3 separate regions of the Homo sapiens genome follow, and regions 1 and 2 are each linked to region 3. Evidence: promoter capture Hi-C in human tissues and cell types (Jung and others, 2019). All regions are on one chromosome and are shown on one strand. The core of a region is centred on a gene start or on the middle of the fragment in contact, and the rest is flanking DNA. Distances in the headings are between cores, read along the strand shown.

Region 1 (3,236 bases), core at 135-2,634, 180 kb before region 3:
TCACTCTGTCGCACAGGCTAGAGTGCAGTGGCGAGATCTCAGCTCACTGCAACATCCACCTCCCAGGTTCAAGCAATTCTCCCGCCTCAGCCTCCCTAGTAGCTGGGACTACAGGCACATACCATCACGCCCAGCTAATTTTTGTATTTTTAGTACAGACGAGGTTTCACCATGTTGGCCAGAGTGGTCTTGAACTCCTGACCTCAAGTGATCCGCCCGTCTCGGCCTCCCAAAGTGCTGGGATTACAGGGGTGAGCCACAGTGCCCAGCCCCTGGGGGAATAAGTTCTGAGAGGACACAGGAAAACTGGGGATTGAAAAGCAGGTTTTCACAAGAGTGGAGGCAGCTGGCTCTGTGGGTTCCCAGACTAAGGGGATCTGTGCTTGACAGACCAGAGGCCAGTTCTGTGACCATCATCTCAGCCTTGAATTTTTTTTTTTTTTTTTTTGAGACAAAGTCTCACTCTGTCGCCCATGCTGGAGTGTAGTGGTGTGAACTCAGGTCACTCCAACCTCTGCCTCCTGGGTTCAAGCGATTCTTGTGCCTCAGCCTCCCGAGTAGCTGGGACTACAGGCGCCCACCACCACCACGCCCGGCTAAGTTTTCTATTTTTAGTAGAGATGGAGTTTCGCCACGTTGGCCAGGCTGGTCTGGAACTCCTGACCTCAAGTGATCCACCAGCCTCGGCCTCCCAAAGTGCTGGCATTACAGGCGTGAGCCACTGCACCCGGCCTAGCCTTGTGATATTAACAGTAACTGTCATTTGCGGTGTGCCTACTCTGTGTCACACTCCTTGCAGTTATTCCATTTAGGGTAGAGCAACATTATTCTAGTTTACAGATGAGAAAACTAAGGCCCCAGAGATTGATTTGCCCAAGCAGCCAGCTGGCAGTGGAAGTGCCAGTTTCTTCGTGTGTAAAACAAGAGAAGGCAATCTACTGCCTACTGGCTTGTCAAGGGTCACTTGAGATCGGACGACAGGAACCACAAAGAAGTGAGGCCGGGAATTTGCGGATCCACAGTAAAGCAAGTTTGTCTTTTTCCAGACGTGCATTAAGATTCCTTTTTCAAGTGTTCTAAAGCGCAGGCGCAGGCTGTTTTGCGGTTGCCTCCCGGCGCCTCTTGTGCAGGCCGGGGTCGCCCTCTGCCGACCCAGGGCGGGAGCGCGCTGAGTGAACGTTTCCAGGCCTGAGGGCGGGCGGAGATTTTTCTCGCCTGTAGAGGGCGCAGATCGGCGTGCAGAGTAACCCACTCTAGTTGTCCCTTCCTTAAGCACTTCCTGTTTGATCTCTATGATCCATCCTGTTGGGACTTGATTCGTTCCTCAAATTTTCAATTTACCGTAAACAAAGGGGACGCGCGCTGACCCGGAAGTGAAAGCTGGAACCCGGCCGGAGTAGCTCTGAGCGCCGGCTGTGAGGAAGGAGGTTCTGGGCAAGCTATAGCCATGGCTGTGGCTGTAGCCATGGCGGGAGCCTTAATCGGGTCGGAGCCAGGCCCCGCGGAAGAACTTGCCAAACTCGAGTACCTGTCTTTGGTGTCAAAGGTTTGCACTGAGCTGGACAATCACTTGGGGATCAACGACAAGGACCTTGGTGAGCTCGGGGAGGTCCCTGGGACCTCAGTTTGGGATTGAGGGAAGCGGAAGGAGGAAGGAGGAAGGAGAAAGGTGGTTGATGGACCGAAAGTATGTTCGTGTGAATCTGTCTCTCTCTGTCGCAGACACCGGTGCCCAGGGTACACGCTGCCGTGGCCTCGGCTTGAGAGCCCTCGAGAAACTTTAGAAACTTTCCCAGAGCTGTCAGTGAAGCCCGGGGCGGTCATCTCTGCTTGATTGTTTTTTGTTTGTTTTTTCAGCCTCAATTAAACATGTTTAACAACAACAGCAGCAGATGCTGCGATGACGACGATGATGGCTGACGTTTATTGGGTGCTCACTATGTGCTAGATGCGATGCTCAGCTCTTTATTGACATTATTTTATTTGGTCTTCACGCCACTCTGTGACATAGTAGTTAGCGTCTGTGCTTTTAACTGTGTTCTTTGACCGTTCATCCTGTACTCTTTTTTGAGGCAGGGCCTCGCTCTGTTTCCCGGGCTGGAGTGCAGTGGCACGATCTCGGCTCACTGCAGCCTCCACCTCCTGGGCTCAAGCAGTCCTCCCACCTCAGCCTCCCGAGTAGCTGGGACTACAGGCGGGCGCCACCAAGCTCGACTCATTTTTAAATTTTTTGTAGAGACGGGGGTCTCACTGTATTGCCCAGGCTGGTCTCGAACTTCTGGGCTCAAGCAGTCCTCTTCCCTCGGCCTCCCAAAGTGTTGGGATTACAGGCGTGAGCCATTGCGTCCTGTACTATGTCTTAAACACCAGTCACTAGATGTTTTGGGGCAAACTACATCTGGGGAGCCGAAACTGAGGAATTAGAAAAGGCTAGGGTCCTAAAGCTAAAGCCATAGACAGATGGAGCCTTTATGAAGGTACAGAGGATGGATGGGATCAAGGGCAACCAATGGATGGATTGACCTTTGGTACGTACAGCAAGGCTTCTTCAGTTGTAACAGGAGCGAGGACAGAGAATACAGTTGCAGATTCAGATGAGTTTAGAGATTGGTGGTGGGAAGATGAGTGAGAGAGTTCCAGCCCACTCTTCAGTTTCCTAAATGAAGATAAAGTCATCAACCGGAGGGATGGAAGGGAAGGGGCAGGTGACAGGAGGGGTTAGGGAAGTTAGACGAGTGACCTTTGGTAAGATTCATAGTTTCTCTGAAGCTGTTTTTCTCATCTGTGAAGTGGGACGATGTCTTCACAGGGTCACCATATAGCATTTAGGAAGATGCCCTGCAGCCAGTATATTTTAGTTTACTTTTTTCTCTTGCCTCCCAGCCAAGATGTGTCTGTCCTATATAACTTTTCCCGCAGGATTCTTCTCTTTTAGTTGATAATGAGGTGATAATTTCGTCGGTTTTGCTATCTCGTTAATATGTTTCCTTTATTCAGCAAATATTGAGCTGGGGGCTAGGCATACCACAGAGAACAAGACAGATTTCTGCTTTCAGGGAGCTTACCTTTCTCTCTGTTTTCATTTTAACTCCTAATACCTTGGCCTTTTAGAAGAAACAAAAAAGTTATTGACATTAACCCCCAGTGTTTAATTGTTTTGATGTTAACTTCATTTGTGTACAAAAATAGAGCGAAGTATAAACTTCATAATCTTTTAGTTTATTTATAGCTAAAGA
Region 2 (3,603 bases), core at 255-2,754, 180 kb after region 3:
GAATAATTTTAGATTTACAGAAAAGTTGCAAAGATAGTACAGAGAGTTCCTGAACACCCTTTCCCCTGTTTTCTCTAATGTTAGCATCTTACATAATCATGATACATTTGTCAAAACTAAGACATGAACATTGGAATGTTATTATTAAGGAAATTCCAGACTTTATTAATCTTTCACTAGTTTTTCCACTAATATCCTTTCTCTGTTCTGGGATCCAGTCCAAGATAACACATTGCAGTTAGCCTTCAAAGTTTCTGAGAAGATTTGAAATTTACCTATCAGTAAACGTGGGCATTTACTGATTGAGCTCCTGAGGCATTACCAGTCTCCCATTACTGCCCTCCTCCATCATTTTCCCTGTCATTCCCCGAAGTAATTGGTTAACATAAAAAATTTGAAAGGGGCCGGGTGCGGTGGCTCACACCTGTAATCCCAGCACTTTGGGAGACCGAAGCAGGCAGATCATTTGAGGTCAGGAGTTTGAGACCAGCTTGGCCAACATGGTGAAACCCTGTCTCTACTAAAAATACCAGAAAATGAGCTGGGCATGGTGGCACGTGCCTGTAATTCCAGCTACTCAGGAGGCTGAGGCACGAGAATCGCTTGGACCCAGGAGGTGGAGGTTGCAGTGAGCCGAGATCGCGCCTGCTGTCTCAAAAAAAAAAAAAAAAAAAAAAAAAAATTGAAAGGGAGTTTTCAGATTTGTTTGATGGAGAAAGTTGAAAAATCGAGTTTGCAACCAGCTAGGGTAGGGAAGCTGCGAGGAGACTAGAGGATGAATGTATGACGGAAAACAAAAAGCATGGTGGTGGTCTACACTGTGCTACAGCAACTAGCAAACTGCAAGATCTCCGTGGCTAAACACAGAAAAGTCTATCTCTTGCTCATTCCAAGTCCGCCGCACGCTTGGTGGCTGTCCAGGGCAGCTGTCTTCCAAGTGGTAGCTCAGGAATCCAAATCTTCCTGTCTTGTGGCTCATTTGTCTTTGCCGGGGACACGTCTTCCCCACTCCTGATGTTTCCTTCCATGAGCAGAGAACCCCACTGGCACAAAACTCTTAGTCTCTCTCCACGCCTCTCTCTACGCCTCTCCACACCTCTCTCTACGCCTCTCCATGCCTCTCCACGCCTCTCTCCACGCCTCTCCACGCCTCTCTCCACGCCTCTCCACGCCTCTCTCTACGCCTCTCCACGCCTCTCCACGCCTCTCTCCACGCCTCTCCACGCCTCTCCACGCCTCTCCCCGCCTCTCTCCACGCCTCTCCACGCCTCTCTCTACGCCTCTCCACCCCTCTCTCCACGCCTCTCCACGCCTCTCTCCACGCCTCTCCACGCCTCTCTCCACGCCTCTCCACGCCTCTCTCCACGCCTCTCCACGCCTCTCCACGCCTCTCTCCACGCCTCTCCACGCCTCTCTCCACGCCTCTCCCCGCCTCTCTCCACGCCTCTCCACGCCTCTCTCCACGCCTCTCCACGCCTCTCTCCACGCCTCTCTCCACGCCTCTCCACGCCTCTCTCCACGCCTCTCCACGCCTCTCTCCACGCCTCTCCACGCCTCTCTCCACGCCTCTCCACGCCTCTCTCCACGCCTCTCCACGCCTCTCTCTACACCTCTCCACGCCTTTCTCCATGCCTCTGCTGATTTGATTGATGAATGTTGAAGGAGGAACAAGGCGTGTGTAACCCGGCTCTCTTCTTCCTTTTCTCTGGTGAGCTGGCCCACCTGCAAAAAGTGTGTGTTCTAAACTGATACACCACACCTCACCCTGAGTATTACGAGGATGGCCCAGCTCCACTGAGGAAAGAAGGACGCAGTTTTACCTGATTCTGGGGTTCAGCATTAGGTTCTGCCCACTGTCCTGTTTCCAAAACCGTGTTACTATGCCTGCATCAAGCTTATCCACCCGCGGCCCACGGGCTGCATGCAGCCAGGATGGCTTTAAATGAAGCCCCAAACAAACTCGTAAGCTTTCTTAAAACATTATGAGATTATTTTTTTAACTCATCAGCTATCACTGGTGTTACTGTATTTTATGTGTGGTCCAAGACAATTCTTCTTCTTGGCCCAGGGAAGCCAAAAGATGGAACACCCTGACCTACATAAACAATAAACATAACTTACACAAAAGTGCACTTATTTGTTCCACAGTTATTCATCATCTAAGACAGCAGTTCTCAACCCAGGGTATTTTTGCCTCTCAGTGGGATGTTTGACAATGCCTGGAGGCTTTTTTTTTTTTTTTTTTTTTGAGACAGAGTCTTGCTCTGTCACCCAGGCTGGAGTGCAGTGGCGTGATCTCAGCTGACTGCAAGCTCCACCTCCCGGGTTCACGCCATTCTCCTGCCTCAGCCTCCCGAGTAGCTGGGACTACAGGTGCCCGCCACCATGCCCAGCTAATTTTTTTGTATTTTATTTTTTTAGAGACGGGGTTTCACCGTGTTAGCCAGGATGGTCTCGATCTCCTGACCTTGTGATCCGCCCACCCCGGCCTCCCAAAGTGCTGGGATTACAGGCGTGAGCCACTGCGCCCGGCCTTTTTTTTTTTTTTTTTTTTTTTGAGACAAGGTCTCACTCCCATCACCCAGGCTGGCGTGCAGTGATGGGATCTCGACTCACTACAGCCTCGACCTCCCATGCTCAGGTGATTCTGTCACCTCAGCCTGTGTGTAGCTGGGACCACAGGTGCACACTGCCATGCTTGGCTAATTTTCTGTATTTTTTGCAGAGACGGGGTTTTGTCATGTTGCCCAGGCTGGTCTCAAACTCCTGGGCTCAAGTGATCCACTCACCTTGGCCTCCCAAAGTGCTGGGATTATAAGCATGAGCCACCTCACCCAGCCTGGAGACATTTTTGATTATCACAACTGGGAAGGGACTACTGGCATCTAGGGGGTACAGCTGGAGATGCTGCTAAACATCCTATAATTCACAGGACAGTCTCCCACAACAAAGAATTATCTAACTTAAAATGTCAACAGTACTGAGGTTGGGGAAACCTTGATCTAAGAGGAGCAAGTGACCCTCTTGGAGCAGCTGAAGTGATTTAGTCCAAGTCCAAACCGAGAGGAATTGGACCAGGGTGGCCATCGAAGACCAAGCAGCTCAGTCCCCTCATCCCTGCCACTGTACCTCTTGGGCACACAGAGGCCTTCCTGAGGATGTGATGAGGCTGTCACGAGCCCAGTGACCTGTCCAGGAGCCCTTGTGCCTCATTGCCTCTCCCAGGTGCAGTGATGGTGGGGCACCTCCCCATGCTTCTGGTGGGAAGCAGGACAAAAATATCCTCTCTTCTCAGATCCCCAGCCCACCACGGAGGTCTGTCTGTTGGCCCCATCTACCCCAGAGTGTGGCCTAAGGTGGAACTAGGTGCGAGGCTCATGCCAGCACCTCACTTTCACCCTTCTCCCCAGCCCTTGCTCCACTTCCCAGTCTGGTGAATCTGTTTCTAATGGAGTTCTTGAGCCAGCCTCCTGGGCTAGGTGTGGGGCTGGGAAATGGAGGGGAAGGACCTTCAAATATGCAGGAAGAGGGTAGGGATCCACTCAACATGCTCTTTATATAAATAAACATTTAATAACACCTCGCTTACTCTCCTAAAATGAC
Region 3 (3,715 bases), core at 1,030-3,529:
GAGCTGCTCACTCTAGTTTGACCCCATTCTTTCTGTGTTCTCACCAACTTTCAGTCTTTCATTTTGCAGATTGAGAGAATCAAGGTACTAATAAAACCTGCTGTCCCCATCTCCCAAACCCGTGGGACTCAAAAGAGCTGACGTCAGTATCCCATGGCACCTTAAGCCTCCCCATCAGGGCACATCCCACTGCTGACACACCTCTGCAGGCCTCTTCTTCCTCTCAGTTTGAGCTTTCTTGGGTGAGACCCCTTTATTCATCTCAGAGCATTCCTGGGCTTGGCTAAGAGCAGAAACTCGGGAAAGCTGTGCTTATAAAGCAAAGCACAAAGCATTCCCACCTGTTGGTTGGTGTCCTTCTTTTCTGTCCTGCCCTGGTTAGCCCCATGGGAAGGTCCTCTACAGGCTCCGACAGACAGGCGTGCCCCTGAGGGCGGCTGTCAGGAGGAAAACAGGGCAGCACGGGCAGGAGGCTTGGTCACTGCTTTGTTCTGAACGAGGCCGGGACAAGGAACCAGACAAAAGGTGGACAGGTATAGTGAGCAACCAGGGAGGGCCTGGTGGGGAGGTGAGGAAGCAGCAGGTCCCCACCCTGGGGAAGAGAAGGGCTTTAGCTGGAATCTTAACAAATAGGCCAATCTCATCCTCCAGCCTCTGGGACTCCAGCACGGACTCCCTTGGCTGCCTGCCTCCCTGACTCTCTCAGAGGCTGCCCATCCCTTGCAGCTCCTTGCGGGGCTGCCTTCCTGGGGGGTCAGCCAGATCTCAGCATGCTGAGTTGTCTGTCCCCTTGGCCTGGACATGGCCCAGCTCCGCAGGGTGATATCTGGTGGGCAGTCTGCCCCAAACCTCAGCCCTCCATCTCCCCCTCACCCCTTGATTCTCCCATCCCAGCCGCAGGCCTGCTTCTCTGCCTCTAGGCTCCTGGACACATAGGGTCTTGGCTTTGGGTGGCCACCCAGGGTCCCAGCTTCAGTCTTAGCTCTCAGAGCCTTAACCTCAGCTGAACTTCCCTGGTAAGCGAGCCCTGTGGCTCTAGGACCACTTGGGGCTGGCCAAAGCATGGTGGGGAGGAGGATGACTCAATGGCAGCCTGATTCAGGAAAGCCCCTCACCAGCCCTCGCCAGTCTGCACCCAGAGGATCCATTTCACGTGTCCTCCAAATCCTGGCTGATCCTGTTTCATTCTCTTGCTGGACACCCTTTCTGGGGCCCAGGAGTGCTGGGACACAGACATGGTCCCCATCACCAGAGAATCCTAGAACTCTCAGTGGAAGAAACCCCAAAGGTAACTGGTCCAGTCTCCTGCATTTGGATGGACTAGACAGAAATTCATGCTCAGAGCACCTAGGCACAGAGAGGGTGAGTAACTTCCCCAGGGTCACACAGTAAAGGAATGATCAGCTGCTCCTGAGCCACCTACCTGAACTCTCCTTTCTCCGCCTGGATGATTTCTTCTCTGTCTCATTGGCAGTGCTCCCAAGCACCCCGTAGTCATCGCCTGGGCCTCCTGTGGTGTCCACCAGGCCCAGGCTGCTGGTCCCCATTTCCTTGGAACCCCCTGCCGGGCCTGAGTTGGGCCTGCGCCGGGCGTCTGAGACAGGGAAGTGCCAGTTGGGGGACTGTGGGAAAGCGGGGTGCTGCTCAGTGAAGATGTGCTCCTCCTGGGGCAGGCTGTGTGGGGTGGCTGCCAGGCAGGAGGCTGAGAAGTCAGGGTACGCTGCCGTCGCTGTCGCCAGGAAGTCTGGTTTCTGGTGGAAGGAGAACGGGGTGGGCGGGTAGTGGGGTAGCCCTGAGGCCCCATTGCCTTCCGAGTGGGGGTTTCGAAGGCAGCCCCAGACAGGGGCTGGGGGCTGGAGGCTCCTCATGCAGCTGCTGGCCGCGGGATCCATCTGCTGTCCGCTGCACGCCTCGGTCCTTTCAAAGATTTGATTCTTTATACTTTTTATGTTCAAATTTTTAAAAATGCAAAAGAAAAAAAACTAAATAGGAGGGAAAAATGTTCAACAGAAAATTTACCCCAGGAACCAAAAAAAAAAAAAAACCCAAAACTAAAGTCTCTCCTTAAAGTACACACACATGTGGCCAGCTACTCCTATGTGTGTGCACACACCTATGTCGGGCTTGCTCCTGCCCCTCCAATGCACCAGCCTACCTACTGGGATCCCCTGTATGTGTATTTGTCGCCAATGACACTAAACATTTTCACTGTCCCAACCCAGACGCACCAGCTGACGAGGAGTTCGTCCTGGAGCCCAGAGCAAATGCCTGCAGAGGGCTGGACCAGGGCTGCTGGGACACACTTTTAAATCCTGCGGTGGGGAGAGAGTGACAAATTTCTGAAGTGAAATGTGAGAGAGGAGAGGGAGGGGTTAACCCACACACACAAGATCCCCTCCAACCAAAACCCTAGCAGGCAACTATTAATCATCAGAAACCTTATATGCACATCTAATGGGATTTGCAGATGGAGACTTTTAAAGAAACATTGTCTGTATTTTTTTTTTAAGGAAAGAGAGCAGCACACACACACATACACACACACCGTCTTTAATGTGCCTCCTGTAACACTATGAAGTTATTTTTATTGCACTGTTAACAAAATTCCCCAAGTCTTGGATTTAGAAAAAGCCTTAAGTCAGATCCAGAATCCATCAAATGCCAAATTCCAGGGAGTGAAGTGAGGAATAAGAGCAAGAGACAAGCTTGGTGATTGCATTTGATTTAAAGGCCCTTCTACTGCTGCCTGCGAAAAAGGAAGGTGGATTAAAAGAAATCTTTTTTGCAAGTCTCAGCGGCCCACTGTGGTCTGCAGTACAAAGAAAGGCACACTCTAGAAAAAAAGAATTTCTCTCTGCCCAGAGTGACATTCTCACTTTCTCAGTAACTTAAAAAAACAATCAGATTCTTCCTTCCGCTCTTTAACCTCCAACATACATGCCAATTAGCCACACTCTTCTCTAGAGAGGTTTCAAGTCATTTTTCTTCACAGCAATGGCAAGGCTCTTAAATAAGGTCCTTGAAGTTTCTTCGGGTCTCCTCCCACCTGCTCCCTGCCCCCTTCACCTCCACCCACCTGCTTCCCTTTCTCATCCCCCAGAGGCGGAGGCTTCCGAGGAATTTGGGGTAGGGAAATAGGAATCAGGGGCTCCTCATTCCCCAAAGGAGCCTCTTTGGCAAGCAGGCACGTGGGTCTCCGGGCTGGTGCACATCACAGGGCAGCCAGCCCAAGTGCCATCTTGATGCCCAGTCTTCCTCATGGCTGCGCCCTGCTGGTCTCTCAGAGGGTTAATGCAATTTCTTGGAGGACGACATTCCTAACACCCAGGGGCCAGAACTCCTTCCCCACTGGTTATTCCCATGGCCCAGAGCAGCAGGATGGGGGCAGAAACAGGCATGGACCTTAACAGCAGCGTCTCTGCTGGCTGCTTCCAAAGACGGCGAGGGTTCCCTGAGGAGGGGCCCCTAGGTCTTAGCTCTGCAGCCTGGAGGTGGGGCCCTGGGGGGTGGGTGCAGGAGATGCTCCTAGGAGGAGCCGAAGGGCACCCAGGGATGTGGAATGAAGCCACGACTGGCCTTTAATCCAGAAACTCCAGTCAGATACACATCCTGGGAGCAGGAGCAGCTGTAAAAGATGGGGAGGGGTGTACATATGAAAAGATGTGCCCTCTTCTGGAACAAGCGGTCAGAGTGTTGTAGACCAGTAGAGTGGATG

The links. Contacts are between HindIII fragments. The study calls those that stand out against the background at their distance.
Region 1: a contact is called between the fragment with the promoter of DHX8 here and the fragment with the promoter of MEOX1 in region 3, in 1 of the 25 tissues and cell types used here (IMR-90 fibroblasts).
Region 2: a contact is called between a fragment that was not itself captured here and the fragment with the promoter of MEOX1 in region 3, in 1 of the 25 tissues and cell types used here (psoas muscle).

The regions. Positions count from the first base shown.
Region 1 is chr17:43,482,591-43,485,826 of GRCh38, forward strand. DHX8 (DEAH-box helicase 8) reads left to right here and starts at 1,385. Exons shown (of 23, transcript NM_004941.3): 1 at 1,385-1,595. The coding sequence starts at 1,448. RefSeq lists enhancers at 1,078-1,920, 1,220-1,649. The HindIII fragment of the contact is 21,666 bases long and covers 1-3,236 here.
Region 2 is chr17:43,841,238-43,844,840 of GRCh38, forward strand. The region is part of intron 2 of LOC107984979 (a long non-coding RNA gene); the gene reads left to right. Among named protein-coding and RNA genes, the nearest start is that of CD300LG, 4.1 kb to the right of the region's middle. The HindIII fragment of the contact is 4,230 bases long and covers 1-3,603 here.
Region 3 is chr17:43,659,643-43,663,357 of GRCh38, forward strand. It overlaps MEOX1 (mesenchyme homeobox 1), which reads right to left and starts at 2,280. Exons shown (of 3, transcript NM_004527.4): 1 at 1,424-2,280. The coding sequence starts at 1,892. RefSeq lists an enhancer at 1,033-1,574. The HindIII fragment of the contact is 25,285 bases long and covers 1-3,715 here.